Regions from separate parts of the Homo sapiens genome. Here regions 1 and 2 are each linked to region 3. The links are contacts of gene promoters, found by promoter capture Hi-C in blood cells and fetal thymus (Javierre and others, 2016). All regions are on one chromosome and are shown on one strand. Each heading gives the region's core, a stretch centred on a gene start or on the middle of the fragment in contact. The rest is flanking DNA. Distances are from core to core; before and after follow the strand shown.

Region 1 (3,745 bases), core at 428-2,927, 99 kb after region 3:
CTTGTGTTGTTATGTCTTTCCAGTATAACTGTAGCTCCTGTTAGGACTTCACCAACAGATTTGTAAGTTCTGTGCATGGGTCTCTCGTGGAAACATCTCTATGCTTAACTATTTTATCCATTTAAAAGCATTTGACTCTGGGTCCCCAGCTAGGGACTAGCAAGGAATCTAGGTCTTCTCTTCAGGCCTTATCTAAGCATTGGCTTAGGCAAGTTGAAGTTAGATTTTTCTTAGTCATTTTTGCCTTCCAGTTTTTAAAGTTTCCTCAAACTAGGGTGAATTGCCGGGTACAGTAGCTCACTCCTGTAATCCCAGCACTTTGGGAGGCCGAGGCTGGCAGATCACCTGAGGTTGAGAGTTTGAGACCAGCCCGACCAACATGGAGAAACCCCATCTCTCCTAAAAGTACAAAATTAGCCAGGCATGGTGGCGCATGCCTGTAATCCTAGCTACTCGGGAGGCTGAGGCAGGAGAATTGCTCGAACCTGGAAGGTGGAGGTTGCGGTGAACTGATATGCCATTGCACCCCAGCCTGGGCAATAAGAATGAAACTCTATCTCAAAACAAACAACAACAAAACAAAAACAAAAACAAAAAAAAACTAGGGTGAATAAAGCAGATTTGTTTAGGGCTCTTTAATGGAAGGAGACCAGCAGGGGCTCATTGGTCCACTCAACCTCTGAGAGTGCTGCAGTGTGACCTTTGTTTTGGCTTCAATATTTTATCCCATTTCTCAATAACTGTTTAAAGATTTACACCCAGCTGGGACTAGTCTCTTGAATCTCCTCTTTCTTTTTCTCCATTGTCTTATGAATCTTTATTGCCTGTTATTTTGGTAAGACTTTTACATATGGCAGTGGGTCTGTGACTACTGGCTATAACTGGATCTGGCCAAAAACCAGGCTTGGCCCAGCATTAGGATTTGCGTTTCTGTTTCGCTATTCCAGGTAACAATAATCAAGGGATTATATAGTAACTTTATTTATTGTTTATGTAACATTTTCTTATGTATCCAGTGACCCAGGCACCCAGGAGTTGGATCCATCATTTCTCAGTCCCACTGGTAACTTTTATTTCTACTAATTGATTGTAATACAGCTGTAGTTGGAGCTATTATTTGTAAATTCCACTGGTAATGTTTACCTCCATTAAATGATTATAGCACAGCTATAGTTTTATACCATGAGTGGCCTTGTAACCATCCAGGAAACAAAGGTTTGTCATCCCTCATTCTTTCTCTTCATTCAGTGAGTCAGCTTCAGCAAGTTAATGTCATTCTTGTGCCCACTTCCGATACCATTGCTGCAAGCTTGAGGGATTCCAAAACCAACCTCAGGTTTGATAATTTGCTAGAAGAACTCACAGAACTCATTATATTCATGGCTATAGTTTGTTACGTAGAAATGATACACATTAAAATCAGCCAAGGGAAGAGAGACATAGGGTGCAGAATCCAGGAGGAGTCCAAATGTAGAGTTTCTGATTGCCCTCTCTCTGTGGTATCATAGACAACATTAGCTCATTTCAATCACAGTGTATGACAGTACTCACAGAATATTGTCAAACAGGGAATCTCAGCAAAGCCTTTGGTGATCATTGTTTGTATTGGGATTTGATCACATACCACCCACATGGCTGACCTTTAGTCTCCTGCTGCTTCCAGAATGTCAAACTATTACCTTTAGTTATTCCTTTCTCTGGAGGTCACAGCTATTACTTTGTGGCCCAAAGCCATACTGTGTGCTGTTATATAGTAGGGTCTATGTGCTCATTATAATGATATGTTCCTTTGGTAGCATTTTCCTGCACAGACCATTCCCATTTCATTATGGAATTCTTCTGGGTACTTCCCATTGTAAATCACATTTTTAGATAGTCCAGTGGCCAAAGCCCCCAGACGAACAAAAACACTCGTATCAGCCAAGACATGCCAGAGGCCTAGTGATTGTTTCCCAGTAGCTGAGGGCAGAAGCCAGACCTCTTTCAATAAGGTTGATCTTTCACTGTATTAACACTGTATATAAAGGACTTTTATAAAAGCTTGTAGTTATGGTGTTATTGTCATCATCCAGTTTAATGCCCTCTTTTTTCCAGTAAGAAAAGAAAGGTCTGGGATAATCATGTTAATTGATTTGTTTACATTTTCATTTTAATTAGTAGCACAACTGAGAGTGAAAATGGAACCCAAATAGTCCATCTTTAGCATAATACTTTTTTTTCTCCTCTAGTGGAGCTTATACCTTGCCAATTATTGAATCTTGAACTCCTGACCTCGTGATCCACCTGCCTCAGCCTCCCAAAATGCTGAGATTACAGGCTTGAGCCACTGCACCTGGCCTGAATTACTGAATCTTACTGAGAATAATCATGGAAAAACATTTGTATTTTTTGATCAACCTAGTTTCAGGAAAAGTCTTAAAAGGAAAACAACCTAATTTTTATTTTAGTTTACTTCTGATCAGACAATTTAAGATTTGGAGATATAAATGAGAATAAACTAAAATTTTTGTGTTCAGGAGGTATAGAGAGTAAGGAGACAGATGTACAAGTGGAAAATGAAACATTCAGTTATAGAATAAAAGTTTATAAAAATGGGACAAATGAAGAGGAAGTGCCTGGCTTGGCTAAGGAAAAGTGATACAGAGGAGGATGAGGCTTGCTATGATTTTAAATGCTGAATTGGCATTTTCTGATCCAAAAAGGTTGGAAGGCGTTGTATGAGAAAACAGGTCCTGATTGGGAAATCCCAAGGTCTTGTGCCAAGCTGGCATAGGTAGAATAATTGTGATGGAGTGGAGTAAGCGGTGATCAAATCATAAAGGGTCTTGTGTTACAATAGAATTTTGGAAATATTCCTCCTGTAGGGAATGGAAAGCCATGGAACCAAAATTATCTGGATTAAATCATCAATTTTGTATTTTAAGTAGGTTGCTATAGCTGTAGTATGGTGGGATTTGAGAGCAGCTAGCACATTATCCTGTAATTCATCCCTTTGTTTGATCTAGGTGAGACTTGGATAAATTTGTCTGGTAAAACATGTGCTCGGCCACGTGTGAGGTGGCCTGTACTCCCAGCACTTAGGGAAGCTGAGGCAGGCAAATCACTTGAGTCCAAGAGTTCGAGACCAGCCTGAGCAATATGGTGAAACCCCATCTCTACAAAAAATACAAAAAATTAGCCAGGTGTAGTGGTGCCTTCCTGTAGTCCCAGCTCCTTAGAAGGCTGAGGTGGGAGGATTTCTTGAGCCCAAGAGTTTGAGGCTGCAGTGAGCTGTGATCCAGCCTGGACAACAGAGTGAGAGCCTGTCTCAAAAAACAAACAAAAAACCTGCTTATCTTTGCTTCCTCCAAAATCGCACCAAGATAGCAACAACAAAAAAAGGATGAACAGTAAGAGATAATGGTCACAAGATAGAAATACATTTTTAGAATGTAGGGAGTGGGTGTCAATTAGTGACCAATTTAACAGGATTAAAGAAAACTGGGCCAGGCTTCACGCCTGTAATCTCAGCACTAGGTTTTTGTTTTGACCCCTTGCCCACTCCAATCCCAGCACTTTGGGAGGCCAAGGTGGGAGAACCGCTTGAGCCCAGAAGTTGAAGACCAGCCTGGGCAACATAGTAAGTCCTCATCTGTACATAAAAGTTAAAAATTAACCAGACAGTCTGGGCGCAGTGGCTCACACCTGTAATCCCGGCACTTTGGGAGGCCAAGGTGGGCGGATCACCTAAGGTCAGGAGTTGAGG
Region 2 (3,910 bases), core at 58-2,557, 120 kb after region 3:
AAAAACTTTCAGACAAATTTTACAATTTAACTGAGCAAGGAAAAATGATTCACAAATTGGGTAGCCCTTAGAGCAGATTCAGAGAGGCTGTGGTACTGCTGCATGGTCTTAGAGAATTTACGGACAGAAAAAGAAAAGTGATGTATAGAAAATGGAAATATGAGGTACAGAAGTGAATTGGTTATAGTTTATTTGCTTTATTTGGCAAAATGAACATGGTTTGAACAGTTGGTTATTCATGAGTGGTTGAAGTATGGCTGCTGTGGTTGGCTGAGATTTAGCTATTGTTACAGAAGCATATTGCTAAGTGAGAATTTGCTTACCTAATAAGTTAGGTTGCAGTTCATACATAAGAACCCAAGTATGCTTTAGGGCTGTTTCAGGCCAGATTTTGATTTAACAAAACTAGTGTCACTCATAGGCTTTAGAGCCTCCTCTTCATTTATCTTATGTTTCCCCTTTTCATGGCTTTATTTTAGTTGCTTCTCAGCTACTCAGAGAAATCTCTGTATCTTGTAGTATCTAATCACACTTTAAAAAAATGATTCATTTCCCAGTGGGCAGAGTAGCACACAGCTGTAGTCCCAGCTACTTGGGTGACTAAGTTAGGAGAATCTCTTGAGGCCAGGAGTTCAAGGCTGTAGTGTTCTATAATTGCACCACTGCATTCCAGCCTGGGCAAGATAGTGAGACCCCATTTACTGATTATAAGATTTAAAAATATCTGCTGCATGATTTGTGAAAAACACAGAAAGTCGTAAGGAGTAAAATAAATCATCTTTAATTTTTTTTAAAGTTAACCACGGTTAAGAGTTGGGTCTGTTTCCTTTTATTCCGTATGTACCTTTTTCCCTGTCTCCTTTAATTAGTACTGAGTTAAAGACCGTGCTTTACTTAGTACTTGAGTATGATTTCTGGAAAAAAAAATTACTGGTTTTATAAAAATGTGTGTACACTAAAATTCATTTATTTTACCATGTACAATTTTTTGAGTTTGGGCAAATTCATAGACTCAGGTAACCACTGCCACAATCAAGATACAAAATAGTTCTCTTACCTTAAAAATTTTCCTGTGCTGCCCCCTTGTAGTTGTCTCCCTACTCCTAACCTCTGGCTAGTTTCTGCATTTTTCAGATCATTGTATAAATGTAATGATAAAGTATATAACCTTTCAAAGCTGGCTTCTTTCTTTCATTCATTAATTTTGAGATTCATTTATGCTGTTCCATAGATTGGTAGTTTGTTCCTTTTTTTTGTTTTTTTTTTTTTTTTTGAGACAAAGTCTCACTCTTGTTCCCCAGGCTGCAGTGCAATGGCACAATCTTGGCTCACTGCAACCTCCCGCCTCCTGGGTTCAAGCGATTCTCCTTCCTTAGCTTCCCGAGTAGCTGGGATTACAGGTGCCTGCCACCACGCCCGGCTAATTTTTGTATCTTTAGTAGAGACAGGGTTTCACCATGTTGGCCAGGCTGGTCTTGAACTCCTGACCTCAGGTGATCCGCCCACCTCGGCCTCACAAAGTATTGGGATTACAGGCGTTAGCCACTGCACCCAGCCAGTTTGTTCCTTTTATTAATGAGTATTCTGTTGTATGGATATACCACAGTTAGATTATCCATTCACCCGCTAACAGATACCCATTCTACTTTTGAGTGATTTTGAATCATGCTCCTAAAAACATACATATACAGATTTTTGTGTGAACATACATTTTTATTTTATTTGGGCAGATATCTAGGAGGGGTATTGCTGGATTGTATGGTAAGAATATATTTAATTTTATAAATAGCAGCTGCCAAACTATTTTCCAGAGTAGCTGTACTATGTTTAATTCCCACTTGAAATGTTTGAGAGTTCCAGTTGATCTGCATCCTCACCAGAACTTGGTATTACTAGGGTTGACTTTTATTTTTTATAGGCATACTGTTAGATATGTAGTGGTACAGCATTGATTTAATTTTTTTTCCCCTTGTGGTAATAGGTATTGAATACTATTGGTGAACTTTTTTACCGTCTATTTTTTTTTTGGAGACATGCTTGTTTAAATCATTTTTTGTTGTTTTTCTTATTTTTAAGTTGTAATGGTTTCTTTTCAACTTTGAATGTATGTCCTCTTTCAGATACATGGCCTTCTACCAGTCTGTAGCAAAAGATCTTAATTATCATGAAGTTTATGTTTTTATTTCTTTCATGGGTCAGATTTTGGTGTCATACCTAAGAACTCATTGCTGTGATCACAAAGGTTTTTTTCAGTTCTCTTTTACGAATAGCCATGCATCACTTAATGGAGGGGATACATTCTGAGAAATGTGTCCTTAGGTGATTTCTTTGCTGTGTAAACACCACAGAGTGTTCTTACACAAACCAAGATGGTTTGCCTACTATATACTTAGGCTATATGGTATGGCCTGTTGTTCTGAGGCTACAAACCTGTGTAGCATGTTACTGTACTGAATATTTTAGGCAATTGTAACACAATGGTAAGTTTTTGTGTATCTAAACATAGAAAAGGTACAAAAAAATATGATATAAAAGGTAAAGGAAATACTATACAGGTTACTTACCATGAATGGAGCTTGCAAGACTGGAAGTTGCTGTAGGCATGTCAGTGAATGAGTGGGAAGAGAATGTGAAGGCCTAGAATGTTACTGTACACTACCGTAGACTTTATAAATGCTGTATACCTAGGCTATCCTATATTTGTTTTGTTTGGTTTTGTTTCTTGAGACAGGGTCTCTATCTGCTGCCCGGGCTGGAGTGTAGTGTTGCTGTCTTGGCTCACTGCATGCTTGACCTCCCAGGCCCAAGTGATCCTCCCACCTCAGCCTCCCAAGTAGCTGGGAGTACAGGCACACACCACCACACCTGGCTAATTTTTGTAATTTTTGTAGAGATAGGGTTTTGCCACATTACCCAGGCCGGTCTTGAACTGCTGAGCTCCAGTGATCTACCCACCTCAGCCTCCCAAAGTTATGGGATTATAGTTGTGAGCCATTACGCCTGGCCCACTAAATTAATTTTTTTTAAAAATAATTGCAGTACAGTGTTATAATGGCTGTGCAGTGTCACCAGATAGGAATTTTTCAGCTCCATTGTAATTTTATGGCACTGCCTTCATATGTGGTCCGTTGTTGACTGAAATGTCATTATTCAGCATATGACTGTACTTTAGTTTCATATTTTACATTCAAGCTAAGATGATTAGAGTAGAAGCAGCGATGTAAGGTATATATATTAACAAAATCTTTTTATGTATATATTGTCTGTATGTGTATGTGCTTTATTAATGATACCAGAAAAACAAATGAAGTCACCAGCCAACCTAGGCTATATGTACTTCATTAGTCCATGTGTTAGCATACATTAAAATCTGTTTTTTTTTTTGTTTTTTTTTTGAGATGGAGTTTCACTCTTGTCACCCAGGCTGAAATGTAATGGTATGATCTTGGCTCACTGTGTCCTCCACTTTCTGGGCTCAAGCAATTCTCCTGCCTCAGCCTCCCGAGGAGCTGGGACTACAGGTGTGTGCCACCATGCCCAGCCAATTTTTAAAAAAATTTTTTGTAGAGACAGGGTTTCGCCATGTTGTCCAGGCTGGTCTTTAATTCCTGAGCTCAAGCGGTCTGCCTATCTTGGCCTCCCAAAGTTCTGGGATTGCAGACGCGAGCCACTGTGCCTGGCCAAAATCAGTTATTTTTTTAATGCAGGTTGAGTATCCTTATCCACAATGCTTGGGGCTGGAAGTGTTTTGGATTTTGGATTTTTTCAGGTTTTAGAATATTTTCATATACTTGAGATATCTTGGGGAGGTGACCCAAGTCTAAACACAAAATTTGTTTATATTTTGTATACACCTTATATACATAACCTGAAGGTAATTTTAAATAATATTTTAAATAATGGTGTGCAT
Region 3 (3,630 bases), core at 65-2,564:
AACATGTAATTAGTATCACCACAAATGAGAAGAATGAAAGGATCACATTTTCCCCCTCGTTTTCCCTTGAAGTCATGAACGGTTGGTTCTGCTGTGACTTTGGGGCTTAGTTTTCAGTAGAAGTGTTGTCCTGCTCTGCTGCTGTTACTGCGGGACTGCTAATTCAGGCTAACTCAGGCGGCGGGCGCTGTGTGCTCTGAACATCAAACCGCGGGTGAGGCGTCAACCCAGGAGTTTATTTTGTGATCAGAGTGGAACCACTACACTTCACTTTCCCCTCACCTCCACCTCTGAGGGAGCAACGAATACAAAGGTAGACCCCCAAAAGCTTTGAATAGCTGTCGCCTACTTTCCCGCGGCCCTCTTCATTTTTTCGTCTCCCGCTGCCGCCGCCGCCGCCGCCTCTGGATCTGGACGGACCCAGTGGCCGCTGCCGCCTCCGCAGGGCCGGGCACTACTTTCCGTCTGCGGTGGTTCCGCCGACCCTCCCGCGGCTGCTGCCCCGCCCGCGCCGGCGGAAGGAGACGCGCTGCGCGCCGCCGCTGCCCGGGGAGGGAGACGGAGCAGTACTGGCCGCGGCGCGGTGGCGGCGGCTGGGCTGCCTCGGGGTCTTCGACGGCCGCGTTGGGTTTTGTTTCAGTTTTCTTGTGTGGCGCTGCAGCACAAGGCTGCGAATCTGGGAGTCCAAAGGAGTGTTTGCGGGGAGGGCCCGAGGTCGCTGTGTCCGGGGCAGAGCGGCCGGTTCGTCCCGAGTCTGCGCTCTTTCGGGTCCGCTGCTGTGTCCCGGTCCGCTCTCCTCAGCATGAGCGGCCGGTAGGAGTGAGGTTTCATCGGTTCCCTCGCACTGGAGGAGGCAGCGGCCGCTTCGGCAGCGACAGCTATGGCGGTAGAGACGCGGGCAGAGCTGGTGGGTAAGCGGTTCCTGTGTGTGGCGGTCGGCGACGAGGCACGTTCGGAGCGCTGGGAGAGCGGACGCGGCTGGCGAAGCTGGCGAGCGGGGGTCATCCGAGCCGTGTCACACAGGGACAGCCGCAATCCGGACCTGGCGGTAAGAGAGTCAGCGCCCCCCTTTTCCCCTGCCGCGCCCGCACCCGGCTCTCGCAGACGTACCTTGCAGGCTTCCCTCTGGCGCCTCGCTCAGCCCGGCCAACTGGCGGTCACGCCCCTCTGCTGAACCCTTGGCGCGTTTGCCCGCATCCCTTGCCTGGGTCCCTGCGTCTCTCCGAGCGGCTTCCCCTGTGGAGGTGGTGTCGGAGCAGGACTCCCGGGATAGCCGCGGAGGCTGCCCTGGCCCCCATCCCGGAGGGGTCGACCGCGGCTCCCCGCTGTGGCGCCTGGGCGGCCACGGAGACCTCCCCGAAAGGCGGAGCCGCGAGTCCGGCGCCGCGCGGGCAGGTGGGGGTAGGGGGCGGACCACTCATGGCGACAGGCGGCCAGCTTCCCTGGTATCTCTTTTCTTGGAAAAGTCTTCATAGTGCTGTAGCTCGAGACTTAAAACTTATCCTGTAAGGTTGCTGAAGGGGAGGGAGAAAAGAAAAGAGACCTTCCCACACAGTCCGGGGATTCCTATGTGTTTTAGAGGCAGAGGCCGTGGTGGTGGCTGTGCCCGGATTCATCCTCTCCTTAATAGATGCTTGGCTTTCTAACCGTAAAGGATAAAAGTGAAAAATTTTGGTATGGAGGGTAATCTCTCTTTCTGTCCCCAATGTGCTTTTCTTGTTAGAAAGGTATAGTTCTTTGGAGTCAAGCTGTTTCTGGGTTTTATACGATTTTAAATAAGACGAAAAATGTTGTCAATTAAAATGTTAAATGCCATGCAGAATTGATTATCTTTTTTTTTTTTTGGTTTCTTACATGTGACGCTGCCAGTGCTTTCTTTGAGTAGCGTAGGTATGTGCATGATATTGAGCTGTAATATGCTCTGTTGTGTTCCAAGTACATTCTCACTGAGGGACAGCTTGAAGGTAAGGGGCGGAGTAGAGACAAGACATGGACTAGACTTCCAAAGGTTGATTTATGAATACGTAATCTGTGAAATTTATTTGTAATGCCCTGAGCCATTTACTTTTTCAATGAAAACTTCAAATTTAGGAAATTTTTTTCCCTTTGTGTGCATGAAAGCTTACAATTCCAAATTCATTGTAATATTTGTACAGGTATCTACCTAATATTTTTTACCTACCTATTTTAATAGTTTCTGAGTGTGTTTTTGTAAACTCGGGTTTTCCTCACTGTAGTCAATGATATGGTTAATGCGGCATGTATTAATATTGACTCGATATCGCAAAATAGGTGTGTTTTGCTGATAGGTATTTCTAACAGAAAATAGAGGTAGTTTTGAAGGTTTTGGCTGGTTATTTTCGTATAGAAATGTATAATCTTCCTTAAAAAGTATTGGTGATGTTAGTGGTTCTAAAAATTATGGCAGTTCAATTCAGTAACTATTTTTGTTTGTGTAAAAGGCTGAGGTAAGAGGATTGCTAGAGCCCAGGACTTATTAAGAGTCCAGCCTGGGCAACATAGGTGAGACCCCCTCATCTGTAAAAAAGGAAAAAAAAAATTTGTATATATAAATAACTTAATTGCTCTCTTAGTTGGGAATTTAAGTGATTAAAGAGTTAAGTTTGCATATGTTAGTAAGGTATTAAGCTGGATATTAAAAAATAAATTATCTATGGATGGTAGAGATTGACTGGAAAGAATAGGAGTTTCTTCAGGTGATAGAAATGTTTCCTATCCTGATTGTTGGTTACACAGATATATATATTTGTCAAAACTCGTTGAATTGATACTATCTTTGCGTTTCACCATATCTAAATTTTACCAAAAAAAGAAAAATGTATGTTGAACCATACCTATGTGAACCCTTGATGAGTTTTTTTAATCTGTCTTTATTTGAAAATTTGAATATTAATTTAGTTTTTTTAGCCTAGAATCTACCATTTTAGATTTATTCCCAGATTTTCTTACATTCACATTTCTTAAACGAAACTTGGAACAGTTTAGCATTAACATAATGTAATATTCCTGTTCGACTTTGATTACTGCAGAGTAGATTTTAAGTTACATGAAATTAGGCTAGGCACAGTGGCTCACGCCTGTAAACCCAACACTTTGGGAGACTGAGATGGGAAGATACTTGAGCGCAGGAGTTTTGAGACTAGCCTGGGCAACATGGCGAAACCCTGTCCCTACAAAAAATACAGAAATTAGCCGGGCATAGTAGTACAATGCCTGTGGTTCCATCTACTGGGGCGGCTGAGGTGGGAGGATCACCTGAGCTCAGTGAGGTTGAGACTGCAGTGAGCCAAGATTATGCCACTGCACTCTAGCCTGGGCGACAGAGTGAGATCCTGTCTCTAAATAAATAAATAAATATGTAAAAAGAAAGTATATGGAAAATGTTGAATAGGCTAGTTTGTGATTTTTTTTTTAAAGCTACAAATATGTATAATTAAAAACCTGTTAAGTCTACTAGAAGTCCTGGCTGGATACACCAGGCAGGACATGTGCCACAAACCTGTGGCACATGATTTGGAAGGATAATGATAAGAACTTCAAAGTAGTTGAGGGAATATTGTGTCTCAAAGATAATCAGTTATTCTTATTTTGGGTCTTATGTATGAGGAA

Evidence for each region. The method cuts DNA at HindIII sites, captures the fragments that hold promoters and counts their contacts. A CHiCAGO score of 5 or more calls a contact.
Region 1: a fragment that was not itself captured here is called in contact with the fragment with the promoter of JMJD1C-AS1 in region 3 in 2 of 17 cell types (M2 macrophages and endothelial precursors); the score reaches 7.1 in M2 macrophages.
Region 2: a fragment that was not itself captured here is called in contact with the fragment with the promoter of JMJD1C-AS1 in region 3 in 3 of 17 cell types (M1 macrophages, M2 macrophages and erythroblasts); the score reaches 7.3 in M1 macrophages.

What each region holds. Positions count from the first base shown.
Region 1 is chr10:63,364,082-63,367,826 of GRCh38, reverse strand. The region is part of intron 2 of JMJD1C (jumonji domain containing 1C); the gene reads left to right. Among named protein-coding and RNA genes, the nearest start is that of MIR1296, 7.1 kb to the left of the region's middle. RefSeq lists an enhancer at 1,420-1,921. The HindIII fragment of the contact is 731 bases long and covers 1,312-2,042 here.
Region 2 is chr10:63,342,852-63,346,761 of GRCh38, reverse strand. All of the region lies in intron 2 of JMJD1C (jumonji domain containing 1C), which reads left to right. Among named protein-coding and RNA genes, the nearest start is that of MIR1296, 28 kb to the left of the region's middle. The HindIII fragment of the contact is 5,906 bases long and covers 1-3,910 here.
Region 3 is chr10:63,462,913-63,466,542 of GRCh38, reverse strand. It overlaps JMJD1C-AS1 (JMJD1C antisense RNA 1), which reads right to left and starts at 1,314. Exons shown (of 1, transcript NR_027182.1): 1 at 1-1,314. JMJD1C (jumonji domain containing 1C) reads left to right here and starts at 566. Exons shown (of 26, transcript NM_032776.3): 1 at 566-1,048. The coding sequence starts at 881. RefSeq lists enhancers at 104-153, 604-773, 854-923, 545-1,334 and silencers at 424-573, 1,114-1,453. The HindIII fragment of the contact is 1,793 bases long and covers 331-2,123 here.